Linked DNA regions of Homo sapiens: region 2 is linked to region 1. Evidence: promoter capture Hi-C in human tissues and cell types (Jung and others, 2019). All regions are on one chromosome and are shown on one strand. Each heading gives the region's core, a stretch centred on a gene start or on the middle of the fragment in contact. The rest is flanking DNA. Distances are from core to core; before and after follow the strand shown.

The links. Contacts are between HindIII fragments. The study calls those that stand out against the background at their distance.
Region 2: a fragment that was not itself captured here is called in contact with the fragment with the promoter of MAFA in region 1 in 1 of the 25 tissues and cell types used here (dorsolateral prefrontal cortex).

What each region holds. Positions count from the first base shown.
Region 1 is chr8:143,429,456-143,435,861 of GRCh38, forward strand. It overlaps MAFA (MAF bZIP transcription factor A), which reads right to left and starts at 1,277. Exons shown (of 1, transcript NM_201589.4): 1 at 1-1,277. The coding sequence starts at 951. RefSeq lists silencers at 1,194-1,633, 6,336-6,406 and an enhancer at 6,312-6,406. The HindIII fragment of the contact is 28,870 bases long and covers 1-6,406 here.
Region 2 is chr8:143,130,251-143,136,831 of GRCh38, forward strand. No RefSeq gene overlaps it. Among named protein-coding and RNA genes, the nearest start is that of LY6H, 27 kb to the right of the region's middle. The HindIII fragment of the contact is 7,324 bases long and covers 1-5,373 here.

The DNA.
Region 1 (6,406 bases), core at 27-2,526:
CAGCTTCTCGTATTTCTCCTTGTACAGGTCCCGCTCTTTGGCCAGGCGCCCCACCTCCAGCTTCAGCTGCTCCACCTGGCTCTGGAGTTGGCACTTCTCGCTCTCCAGAATGTGCCGCTGCTGCACCCGCTTGAAGCGGCAGGACTGCGCGTAGCCGCGGTTCTTGAGCGTGCGCCGCTTCTGCTTGAGCCGGATGACCTCCTCCTTGCTGAAGCCGCGGAGCTGCCGGTTCAGCTCGCGCACCGACATGGACACCAGCTGGTCGTCGGAGAAGCGCTCCTCCAGGCGCACGTGGTGGCCCGCGCCACCGCCGTGTCCCGCGCCGCCATGGTGGTGGTGGTGGTGGTGGTGGTGGTGGGCGGCGTGGTGATGGTGGGCGGCGTGGTGCGCGCCGTGGTGGTGGCCGGCGCCCATGTCGTCCGCTCCGCCGCCGCCCGCGAAGCCCGGGCCGCGGAAAGCCTCGTAGGCTGCGGCGGCCGCCGGGTGGTGCGCGCCGTGGTGCGCGCCGTGGTGGCCGCTGCCGATGAGCGCCTCCACCGCGTCCTCGGGCGTCAGGTTGAGCGCCTCGGGGTTGAGGTGATGCTGGTAGCCGCTCATCCAGTACAGATCCTCCAGCGCCGGCTTCCCCGAGGTGCCCCCGACGGCGCCGGGGCCCCCGCTCGGCGGCCCGGGGGCGCCCCCGGCCTGAGACGAGCCGCCGCCGCCCCCCGCGCCGCCGCCGCCGCCGGTGCCCGGGCTGGGCGCGCAGAAGCTGGGCGAGGAGGGCACGGAGGAGCAGGGCGTGCTGAGCGGCGTCGAGGACAGCGAGCCTGGCGGCAGGCGGTGGCAGAAGCGCTCGGCCTCGGGAGGCTCCTTCTTCACCTCGAACTTCATCAGGTCGAAGTCGTTGACGTACTCGATGGCCAGCGGGCTGCTGGGCAGCTCGGCGCCCATCGCCAGCTCCGCGGCCATCGCCCGGGGCCCGCGCCCGGCCGCGCCCCGACGGGCGGCGTGGGAGTGGGGGGGGAGCTGCAGGCCTCTCCCCCCCCTGCTCCCCGCGGGCGGCGGTCCCGGCGGGGGCGGGGGGGCGCCGGCGCGGGGCGGCGGCGCCGAGGGGCGCAGGGAAAAGTTTCACGTGGTCAACTCCGGGGCGGCGCGCTAGGGGCACCGCTGGCCAGGTGTCTCGGGCGACCCCGGGCCCGCGTCGCCGCCTCCTCCCCGCGGCCGCCGCCTCGGGCTGCTCCGGGACCGCTCCCGCGCCCCACCCGCGCCGCCGGCCGGCCCCGCCTCCCACGGCTAAACGCGAAGCCGCGCGCGCCCCTTTATAGAGCCGGGTGCCTGGGCCCGCCTCCCCGGGAGGGGCGCGCGCCCCCGGGCCAATCGGAGCCCCAGCCCCGCCGCCCTCATTTGCTTATCCCCATGGCAACTCAGAGCCCAGCTGTCAATCTCCTGCGGGAAACAGCTGTGGGAAGAGGTAGGGACGGGCCGCCGGCTAGAGGAGAGGGCAGGGCCCTCTGGTGGCCATCACGGGGCACTGCACGGGCAGAGGGCGCGCCGCCTCAGGGGACAACTGCCGTCTCCAGGGGCCTCAGCTCCCACACCCGGCGGCCGGAGAGTCCGGGGAAGCAGACGGGGACCGCGCCCGGGGACCCCCTCGGGGCCTCGTCCGCCTCGGGCCACGCGGCGGGACGCCCCCTCGGCCCCCTGGGTTTGCGGCCGGGCCTGGGGGCCGGGGGCAGCTCCGCTAGCGGCGGCGGCGGCGGCAGCGGGACCTCCGGGCCTCTGGACACGGGTGACACCGCGCGGCCCGGCAGAGCGCGGCGCGCTGAGCCGGTTATTTTTAGCCCGCGGCTCAGACGCGTTCAGGAATTTGGTCAACAAAGTTGCCGGCACCTCCGGGCACCGGGAAGCACGGGGCGGGCGGAGGGGGACACACGCGTGCGGGGCGGCGCGAGGGGCCGGGGACGGAGGGCCGGCTTGTGGGGGGCCGCGGAGAGCGCAGGACTGTGGGGGTCGCGGGACAACGCGGGTGGGTGCGAGCGGCGGGGGCGGGGCCCACGGGCTGGCAGCCCCTCAGGGCGTTAGGAATCCCCGCCCAAGCGGCCACCACTGCCCACTTTCGCCCCCCGCAGGGCTGGAGGCGCCTTGCTGGGCCTGGAGTGGGACGGGGGGTAACTGAGACGGGAAGGCGGGGATTTCCACCTGGCGGCCGTGCACCTGCTGGGAGGAGACGGCTCCGGTTCACGGGGCAAAGGAGGTGACGATGGGCGGTGGGCCTGTGACCCCAGGTCCCCGACACCAGCGAGCCGGGTGATGGGAGGGTTGCGCCAGGAGTTACAAGGCCGGTGACCCGAAGTGGGCCTATTGTTTCTTCTCGAAATTCTCTCCATTGCTGTTCTATGACTTCAGCAATTTAAAAAAAAAAAAAAAAAGTCTAAAATGTAACCACCTGTGTAGAGAAAAAAAGCCTGGAAGGAGTTGCGCAGAGGCCACAGGGAGGCCTGGTCACGGCGCCGCAGATTTAGTACCAGGCTCTCACCTCCTTCCCTCTACAAAGATCTATTGTTTTGTAACAAGAAGACTGTCATGAAGTGAGGACTGAACATCTGCTTCCTAAGGTGTCTCGGGGTGTCCCTGGCCCTTCCCTGGGCCCTCCCACTCCTCTGGGCAGAGCTGGGACTGCTGATTTGGGAAGACCAGGCCTTCCTCCCCGCAAGGGAGGGCCAAGGACAGCATGAGGACCCACCTGCAGGGACCCCTCTCCCCCGATCCTGTCCCAGAGGGGGCTCTGAGCTCCCCACCCTTCTACAGATGAAGAAATGAAGTGGGCATGCAGCAGAGCCAAGTCCCCACACTGGGTACCTGGACTTGAGACCACACGAGTGGTCAGCCAGCCAGGGGTGTGGGGTTTCCTTTATGGCACCCCGTGTTGAGAGGGAGGCCCGGGAAGGGAGGATGCCGCCGCGCAGTGGAGCTGGTGGTAGTCCAGGTTGTCTGCACCTGCAGCCCCAGGAGAGGCCTTGGGGCTACAGGGCCCTCCCACGGCCCCTCCAAGGGTCTAGCAGCATTTCTGGGTACCACACCCTGGAGGCCCTGGGGCACACTGGAAAGGGGGTTGAGGAGGAAAGAGAGAGTGTTTGCACCGGGCTGTGTCCCCACTGTCCCCCCCTCCCGCCCATCGCACTGTGGCTCCTGCCAGGCCAAGGAGACCAGGAGAGGGTGTTTGGTCACCAGCCCAGGAGGACTCCAGCACACCCGTGGGAATGAAGGAGACGCCTGACCCCAGGCTGTTGCAGTGGGAACCTTCCCCGGGGCCACAGCTGTGACCTCAGGCTGAGGGACGCTGACCCCACAGCCATGCTTGGACTCAGTGGCACCCCCATCCCGCCACCACCCACAGGAAGCCTAAGTGCCTCATCTTGCTCTGAGAGGTGGGAGAAGGTGGTGGAGGCTGGGGTGGCCTCAAAGATTGACCCCAACCCATCCGCCCCAAGCCTGCCAAGCCCTCCTTGAGGCTTGGTGCTGTCACCACCAAGCCAGGATGGCTCCCTAGAATTCGCCTGTGCTCCGCTGTTCCCTGGGCTCCCAGAAGCGCTTTCCCTTCCCGCCAGCCTCCCAACCCAAGGGCTTCTCACACCCTCCAAACTTTCAGCATTTGGTCCTCACAGAATTCTGCAGGGGCAGTCTGTGTGGCTGGGTAACTCAATGCACCCAACAGGCTTCTCTTGAGCACCTAGAGTACGTCAGCCAGCCTGCCTAGGGGGCACATCCCATCAGGGAGGTGGCCAGGGTCCCTTGTTGAGAAGCCCCCTGGAGCTTGATGGCACAAGTATTATTTCATCCATGGGCTCTGTAAGGGGGAGATGTGTCCTGGGAATAGGGGCACAGCTTGCCTCTGGTCCTGACAGCTGGGAGGACTTGGGGGTTGGGGTAACGGGACAGCTGATGGATGGTGCCACTGGGCAGGGTCTTCACACCCAGGCCTGGCAGATGGTGAGAGCTGTCGGCCAAAACAGCTGCTTGTGACACCTCCACAGGGCTGCTCCCTGCAGCTGGTTGGGCTTCCTCACAGCATGGCTGCTGGTTCCCAGTGTGTGCATCCGAGGAAGGTGGAGGGGTGCATGTGCCTCAGAACACTGCACCATGCTGGTGGTCCTCGTGTGTAGAGGTCGGCCACCCCCCTGGGCAGGGGTACGGACACTGCCTGTGTAGGTCATGTGAGGAAGGGGCCTGTGGGCTGAGATGCACTGTTGTAGTGTTTTTGGAAAATACAGTCTGCCGAGTGGGCCTCAGAGAACAGAAAATCAGCCATAAAAATAGTAAGTAAAATGAGGCCGGACACAGTGGCTCATGCCTGTAATCCCAGCACTTTGGGAGGCCGAGGTGGGCAGATCACAAGGTCAGGATTTTGAGACCAGCCTGGCCAACCTGGCAAGAGCCCGTCTCTACTTAAAAAATACAAAAATTAGCCGGGCGTGGTGGTGCACACCTGTGGTCCCAGCTACTTGGGAGGCTGAGGCAGGAGAATCGCTTGAACCCGGGAGGCGGAGGTTGCAGTGAGCCGAGATCACGCCAGTGCACTTCAGCCTGGCCAACAGAGTGATTCTGTCTCAAATAATAATAATGAGTAAAATGATAGTGGATTTGCCTTCTATTGCTGTCTCACCAATTACCACACGTTTAGTAACTTAACACACATTTATGGTCTTGTGGCTTCTGTGAGCCAGGTGTCCAGGCAGGGCTTAGCAGGAGCCCCCGTCCAGGGTGCAGTCTAGGAGGTGGCCGGGCTACAGTTTCAACGTGGGACGAGAAGGGCTGTGCCACCAGGCATCGTCAGGCTGTTGGCAGAATTATTTCCTTAAATCTGTACAACTGAGGACCGGCTTCTTGCTGGCTGGAGGCTGGAGGCCACCCTGAGCTCCTCACCAGGTGCAGCCCCAGCACAGGCCCTGACGCCTCGGGCCAGCAGGGAGAGGCTCTCAGCGGGGCGTAAGGTGCCGTGATCACAGCTGCGGCATCTGGCCACCCTCCAGGAGTCTGTCGGAGGAAAGGGGTCACCCAAGGGTGGGAACGCTGGGCAGGGGGGTGCGTCATGAGGCTACCTCAGGGCCTGTCCCCCACACTCGTTTGTGAGAAGGCGGAAGCTTGGCTAGGTGGGGAGTTCTGGGTTGGTGGGGTTGGGGGGCCTCACAGACACCTGAGCAGATGGAGGGGCAAGCCCTTCAGGCCGGGGAGCAGGGAGCCCAGAGCCACTGCCTGGGAGGGGCCTGGAAGGGCCCAGGGTGGCTGGGTCAAGATCAGAGCCCATGGGGGCTGGTGTAGGGCCCAGGAAGTCATCGTGGGCCCCCAGAGGGCTCTGGGTGGAGGGAAACCTGGTACGAGGAGGGACAGGGAGGTTGGGGTGCTCACCAGCTGAACCCCACAGCTCCCTCTGCTGTCCACCATGGGACCCCACGCAGTCTGCTGTCTGCTGGGGCCCTGAGCTCATGCATTTTACTGCAGGGAGGGGCCTGAGGGGACCCTCCTGGCACGGCTCCTCCACCCCTGCCAGAGCACAGCTGCGCAGGAGGGCTGAGCTAACCCTGCCAGGCCATGCGTGGACCTCCTGAACCTCACCCTGCTGCCCCAAGAGTAAGTGCTCGGAACTGCGTAGAGCCTCGCGTGGGGTCTGGAGTGTCATTTTTGGGGCATGTATTTAGGTGGGAGAACCCCCACACCCCCAGTGCCCGCGTTTGCTGTGCGGAGCTGATCACAGGAGACAGAACCTTCTCCGTCCCGCAGACAGAGGCTCTGCATCTTCTGGGCTAGGGGGCTGCTGGGGCTGCCTCCACCCCCACCCTGCTCCTGCTGCCCGGGCGCCCCTCCTCCACTCAGGGGCTCATTTGCATTTAAAAACGACAACCAAAAAACAAGCCCAGGGCCTCCTGAGAGTCCCTCCTCAGCCTGTCGCTGCTCTGCCCAGGGCCTCCTGAGAGTCCCTCCTCAGCCTGTCGCTGCTCCGCCCCTTCCTTGTGCCCCTACTCAAGCACGGATGGTGCGCCTGCTGTATGCCAGGCGCCAGTCAGGGCACTCGCTCAGCCACTGCACGCCCAAGCTCCCTGCCCTCCCGGAGCTCCCGTGCTGCTGGGCGCTAAGTGAGGCGGGGTCAACGCCCTCAGCCCAGAGGCAGGATGGGCACAGGCCTAGCCCAGGAAGGTGCTGGCGCTCCCGGCGGACCCCCAGACACTCTCCCTTCGGTCACCTCCCAGCCCCCAGGGGCATCCAGGCCAGCATCCGACTGCCCAGCCGGCACCCCTCCAGGCACACAGGGCACAGAACCACACTCTGAAGTCACTGCTGCACCCCTGCTCGCCCATCCACCTCCCGCAGTGGCCCTGGACTCTGCCCACGGCTCCCACCTCTGCGGCCATCACATCTCCCTTATAAG
Region 2 (6,581 bases), core at 462-2,961, 300 kb before region 1:
AGAGGTGCTTTTCCCAGAGATGGGAATCGGATTCCTGCTGACTTCACCTGAGTAATTCAGAGCACGAGGGAAGCTGCACCTCCAGGGGCGCTCCTGACAGGTAACCCACTGGAGCTGCTATTCCGCAGCAGAGGCACCAGCCAGAAAGATCCGAAAGAAACATTTTCAAAAGTGGACCAAGATGGCTGCAGTTTGGCCACACGGGTAGTAGGAGGCAGGCCTGGCCTATGAGGCTGGAATCTGCATTGTCTCACTGACGTGTCCTGGTCACTGCCGTGCCTGTCAGATGAGGCAGGACAGAACAGTCGCCCCTGCAGACCCTGAGGCTCCAGTAGGTGCCAGCTTTCCACCCTGTGTGCCAGCCACGTGTCCACTCCACCTGTGTACAAGGCACCGAGGCCAGGCAGGACTGCGAGGTCCCCCTGAGCGCACTGCCCCTCTCAGGCTGTGGAACCACCCCTCCTGCCTCCTCAGCCGATGGAACCTGTGTTCCGGGTTGCCACTCACTCTTGGCTCAGCATAAAACGCACTTTGGCTTCTCTAAGTCTGCAGTGCCCATGAGTGCGGCCTCCAGCCGTCGCTGCCGTCTGCCCCTCTCGGAGGACAGATGAGAACAGTGCAGGGATCCCAGGGTGGGGAATGCCCAGGAGCCTGGCCTCCACTCTGGGGTGACCCCGGACCTGCCAGGCGCTGCCTGCATGTGGAGGGGGCATTGCTGCCTCCTCCCTGCCTCAGAGCTTGATCTGCGAGTCCGAACGTGCCAAGTGTGAACCAGCCCCAGCGATCTCCAGGCAGAAACAGATGCATTGGTCTCATGAGGGTTGGCCCCACCCTGCTGAAGGTTTGGGGAGATTTTAGAATTTGGTCTTGGGGCCCTGAGTGCGGCAGAAACAGTGTCCCTGCACGCTCATCATGAAGAGCAGGAGGCTTGTTATCCTGAGTAGGGACAGCAGAGGGCGACCTCTTCCAGGATCCAGACACAGGCCCGGGAGGCTGTAAAGGCCACTCATACGGGAATCGATGGAAATCGGACACCCGTCCCCAGCCCTGGGCCAGTGTGCATCCTTCCTCACCCAGGAGGGGCTACTGAACACTCTCATCCCTGGCATCTGATGCTGTAGAGGTCAGAGGCCAGGTCGGGGCCGGGCAGTAGCCTGAGTCCTGAGGGAGCAGTGCTGACAACGGCCCCTCAACCCATCGCTGTTCTCCCGCAGCCTGAGTGCCACCAATGTAAAAGGACAGCTGTGTGGGCCGCATGTGCCCGGAATGAGGCCCCCTGCTCCCTCAGCCGCGTTCTCATGGGTGAACAAAGACCGTGATGGAACCCACCTGAGCCCCTGAGCCGGCTGGACTGGATTATCCTCCCTATGCGTGGATAATCAGAGCCGGGATTATTCCCCTTAAATATTCCTCTTCCCACTGGCAGTTCTGATTCTCTTTGGACAACTGTTAGGAAACTGAAAAACCTAACAGTGTGTCCTCCTTTCCTGGCCAAGGAAGAAACCACCGTTTAGCTTCTTCATGCCCCAGCCAAAGAGCAGGCGATGGAGGCCCAGAAAACCAACCCCACGCTGTCTGACACAGCTCTCGAGACCCGGTCATCTAAGGCAGCTGTTTGCAAGGCTCTCCTGGGCTGCACCTGCCACCACTTCTCACAACCCACCTTAGCTCCAGTCTGCAGAGCCCCTGCGAAGGCTGAGTTAGAGAACGCTGAGCCCCTGCTGCTAGCAGACACACAGGGTTAGGGTCCCGCAAGCCTCTGGCTCCGTTTTCATCAGCCGATCAATATATCATCTCATTCTCTGTGTTTCTATTTAAAGATCCCTTACTGAATGCACGTGGTGGCTTCATTAACATTGCAATCGGTGCCAAGCACCGTAAGCCTGGACAAAGCTTCTCTGACCCAGGCATTCCTTGCCTAGGACGTGAGGCAGCACCTCGGGACAATGCTTGGGGACATTGCAAACAGCAAAGTCACCCACAAAAAGCACAAAAATGCAAAAAAAAAAAAAATGGCACCAGATAGACCACGAAAAGGGCTCTTGATTGCAGCACAAGCTGGAGCAAGAAGGCCGCCCTGCGCAACCTCAGCCAAGAACGCACTCCGGTGACTCAGAATTGTCGCCGCTCCGTGCAAGTAAGTGTTTGGGGATTACAGCTTCTTTTTTTTTTTGAGACGGAGTCTAGCTCTGTCGCCCAGGCTGGAGTACAGCCGTGTGGTCTTGGCTCACTGCAACCTCCACCTCCCATGTTCGAGCGATTCTCCTGCTTCAGCCTCCCAAGTAACCACCACGCCCAGCTAATTTTGTATTTTTAAAGTCACGGGGTTTCACCATATTGGTCAGGCTGGTCTTGAACTCCTGACCTCGTGATCAGCCCACCTCGGCCTCCCAAAGTGCTGGATTTACAGGTGTGAGCCACCGCACCTGGCCTTACAGCTACATTTTAGCAAGTAGAAGAATCGCATACAGACTCCAGGAATGACAAGGATGGACTGTTAAGGAAATCTCAGTGGGGCACAGCACAGCGGAACCCTGGCACTTCCAAGAGTGCTTTTCAGGACACCAGCCAGTCCTTGCACACCAAGGTCACGAAGATAATTAACATTTGGAATAATTAATATCTAGAAAATGATTAGGAGCATTTACCAACATTAGTCTTAATATTTTTTACTATTTAACCCATCTCCCTTCTTTCCGGACACACTCAGCCACACCAGCTGTCCCTTGTTGAGACTTCTCCTGGATCAGGATGCCGAGCGTCTATCTCGTGTCCATTATAATTTTACAAAACGCACCTGTGCAGCCCTCCCCAGCCCCACCGTCGCCTGGCATCAGCACCCAGGGTCTCCAGCCCACTCCACTCTTCAGACTGGATCCGCAGTGACCTTTCTGAAATACAGATCAGGTCATGCCACTGATTAAAACCCTTCAATGGCTTCCCCAGTGCTTCCATTAGTCACCAAACAGTCCAGCCGCCCTGCAAAGCAGCCAGCACTGGGGACCCCTGTGGCTCTGTGCTCCAAACACCCTCTGCCTCCAGTCCAGCTGCAGCCGCAGAGCCGTATCCTCCAGCGCTGCTCCTGCACTGACCCTTCCTCAGAGGGGAGGACGCTTCGGGCAGCCACCTCCCAATCCCGCACTATTGCTTTGCCTCCTACCTGCCCCTGCGGCACTCACTGGCCTGGCCCTCAGGACACCCAGAGGAGCTTCCAGCCCGCAGTTTCAGTGGTGCCCAGCAAACAGCTCCTAGTGGCCTCTGAGGGCCTTGCCAGCGTGGACAGCTCCTTGCCAGTGGGACGGTTCCTTGCCAGTGTGGACGGCTCCTGCTGCAGCTCCCAAAGGGCGCTCTCCTGCCAGCCTTGGCTGAGGCGCTGCTGCTTCAGTAGGGTCTGAAGCTCAGCCTTGATGAGGGACCTCCCCCAAACACATTTGGCTCCGCCCAGCCCTCAAGCTGTGGTTGCTTTTGGGCCCGCCCCTCCTGCCTCTTAGAGGTCTCTGTGCCCCTTCACAGCTGTTCCCAATATCCAGCCCCTACTACCTGTTAATAACCCCAGTAAACTTCCCCTGCCTGCTGGCTGTGTGATTTCTGTCTCCTGGTGACCCTGAGGGAGGCACAGCCCTGTGCGGTCTGGTCTCCATCCTCCCACACGTCCTGCCTGTCTGGGCTCCAGCCACACGGGCCCCTGTCCCGCTCCGGTGGGTAATATGGTAGAGTTCAGACCAAAATGTCAGTCACATTAACACAAATAAGTGGGCTTCACTCACCTGTTAAAAACATTTTTAGGGCCAGGTGCGGTGGCTCACGCCTGTAATCCCAGAACTTTGGGAGGCTGAGGCGGGCGGATCACGAGGTCAGGAGTTTGAGACCATCCTGGCTAACATGGTAAAACCTCATCTTTACTAAAAATACAAAAAATTAGCCGGGCGTGGTGGTGGGCGCCTGTTGTCCCAGCTACTCAGGAGGCTGAGGCAGGAGAATGGCATGAACCTGGGAGGCGGAGCTTGCAGTGAGCCGAGATCGCGCCACTGCACTCCAGCCTGGGCAACAGAGCGAGACTCCGTCTCAAAAAAAAAAAAAAAGAAAAACATTTTTAGTTTGGGTCATAAAACAAGACCAACTATATGCCAAATAAAAGATATACACCTAAAAAATGATTCTGACAGGCCAAAACTAAAAATGTGGGCAAATGGACAATAAGAAAGCCAGAGTCATGACAAAATAAAACATTAAATGCGACAACAAATATTTTAATGCAAAAATCCGCAATTCATAATGTAAAAATAACAGTTATGACTATGCACCAAATAATAAAGCAGCCACTTTTATAAAGCAGACACTCCGGAGACAGAAGGAGAAATAAATACAAAAACACTAGTCATGAGAGACTTTAACATAGCACTGTTAGCATTCTATCAGTAAGGCCAAGCGGACGAAGAGTAGCTGAGGGCTTAGAAGACCTGTGTATCATACAGACATCAAAGATAAATGCAATCCTAGGCCGGGCGCGGTGGCTCACGCCTGTAATCCCAACACTTTGGGAGGCCGAGGTGGGTGGATCACTTGAGGTCAGGAGTTCAAGACCAGCCTGGCAAACATGGTGAAACCCCATCTCTACTAAAATAAAAATACAAAAATTAGCCGGGCATGGTGGCACACACCTGTAATCTCAGCTACTCAGGAGGCTGAGGCACGAGAATCGCTTGAACCTGGGAGACAGAGATTGCAGTGAGCCGAGATCGGGCCACTGCACTCCAGCCTGGGTGATAGACAGAGACTCAGTCTCAAAAAAAAAAAAAAAAAAAGGTAAATGCATCAAAAACACACTTTCTCACGTGCACAGAAAACACAGACTGTCGCTGACGCGGGATAGGTAAGGTCAGGAGGCCACATTGACTTGTCCCTTGTGTGAAGCCTCTTGGGCTCTCCGTCCCTCACCCCTTGTGCTCAGCACCCAGCTCTCTTGCAAGGTCAAGAGCCCTGCCAGACACCAGCAGATGGCCAGATGCTTACAAGTTCCTGATACCTGATATGGCAGGAAAGAGAACAAAAGCCCCTTATTCCTGATGTAGCTTCGCCAGTCTCCAGCCAATCAGCACCAGAAGCCCATGAAGCCATCAGCGACACATTCCTGCCTCAGGGGTCCTGCACGCACAGCTAGGCTCAAGGTGTACCTCGTATTCGGTTGATGCAAAAGTAACTGTGGGTTTTGCCATTGAAAGTAATAGACAAAACAGCAATTACTTTCGCACCAACCTCATAGTAACCCTTCTCTCGTTTTTGTAGTAAAAAGCACACCCTGGATGGAGATGTTAAACGCTAGTGATCCATGTGATGCGTTCACCAGCCGCAGGTCCACCTTTGCACACCTGACTCACCAGGATTGTATGTACAGCTCCCACAAAGGGAATATCCCCCTCAAGACACCAGGGACTGCTCTCTCACTGAGCAGCCACTCTGTCTCTCAGGGTGGACTTTTGCTCTGCAATAAACTCTTGGCTGGGCATGGTGGCTCATGCCTGTAATCCCAGCACTTTGGGAGGCCGAGGCTGGCGGATGACCTGAGGTCGGGAGTTCGAGACCAGCCTGACCAACATGGAGAAACCCCATCTCTATTAAAAATACAAAATTAGCCAGACGTGGTAGCGCATGCCTGTAATCCCAGCTACTCAGGAGGCTGAGGCAGGAGAATCACTTGAACCCAGGAGGTGGAGGTTGTGGTGAGCCAAGATCGTGCCATTGCATTCCAGCCTGGGCAACAAGAGCAAAGCTCCATCTCAAAAAAAAGAAAAAAAAAAAAGAAAGAAAAAAACCTCCTTTGCCTGCTGTTTCTGTGGACTCGATCTCAAATTCTTTTGTGCAGCGAAGTTGGGAACCTGACCCGGCCACCCACAGGCAGCATCGGCACAGAAGGTCACAAAGAAGACACCAGGAAACCCCATAAGCGAGAAACTGGAAACCGCGCACTCTGGTCACGATGAAAAGATAATGAGAATTTATCAACAGTACTATTGTAAAGGGCCCTTCCACCCGGAAGTTTAAAAACAACTCTTGGGTGAAAGGAGAAGTCCAAACTGAAATTACAGAATGTCTTTTGAAAGTGTGATTGTAATAAAAACTTGTGGTTGCTGCCTGCTTTGCTGACGGTGGCTCATCCCCTGTGGCCAATCTGAGCTCGCCCTGGTGGGTGTGCACGGGCCTGACGCCCCCGGCTCTGCACCGCCCGCCTACCTGGGCCAGCCCTGGTGGGTGTGCACAGGCCTGATGCCCCCAGCTCTGCACCGCCTGCCCGGCCCCTGCACTGCTGCTTCCTGCCCTGCAGTTGCCTCTGACCCCGCAGCTCTGTTAGCCTTCGTCCATAAAGTCACACGGCACCCCTCAGAGAGGCTGTGGCTGACCACACCAGAGGGGTAGCCTCAGTCCTTACCATGAGGGCTATTCTTTCTGTCCTTTTCTTTCTTCTTTTTTCTTTTTTTTTTTGAGATGGAGTTTCAATCTTGTTGCCCAGGCTGGAGTGTAGTGGTGTGATCTCAGCTCACTGCAACCTCCGCCTCCCAGGTTCAAGCAGTTCTTGCGCCGCA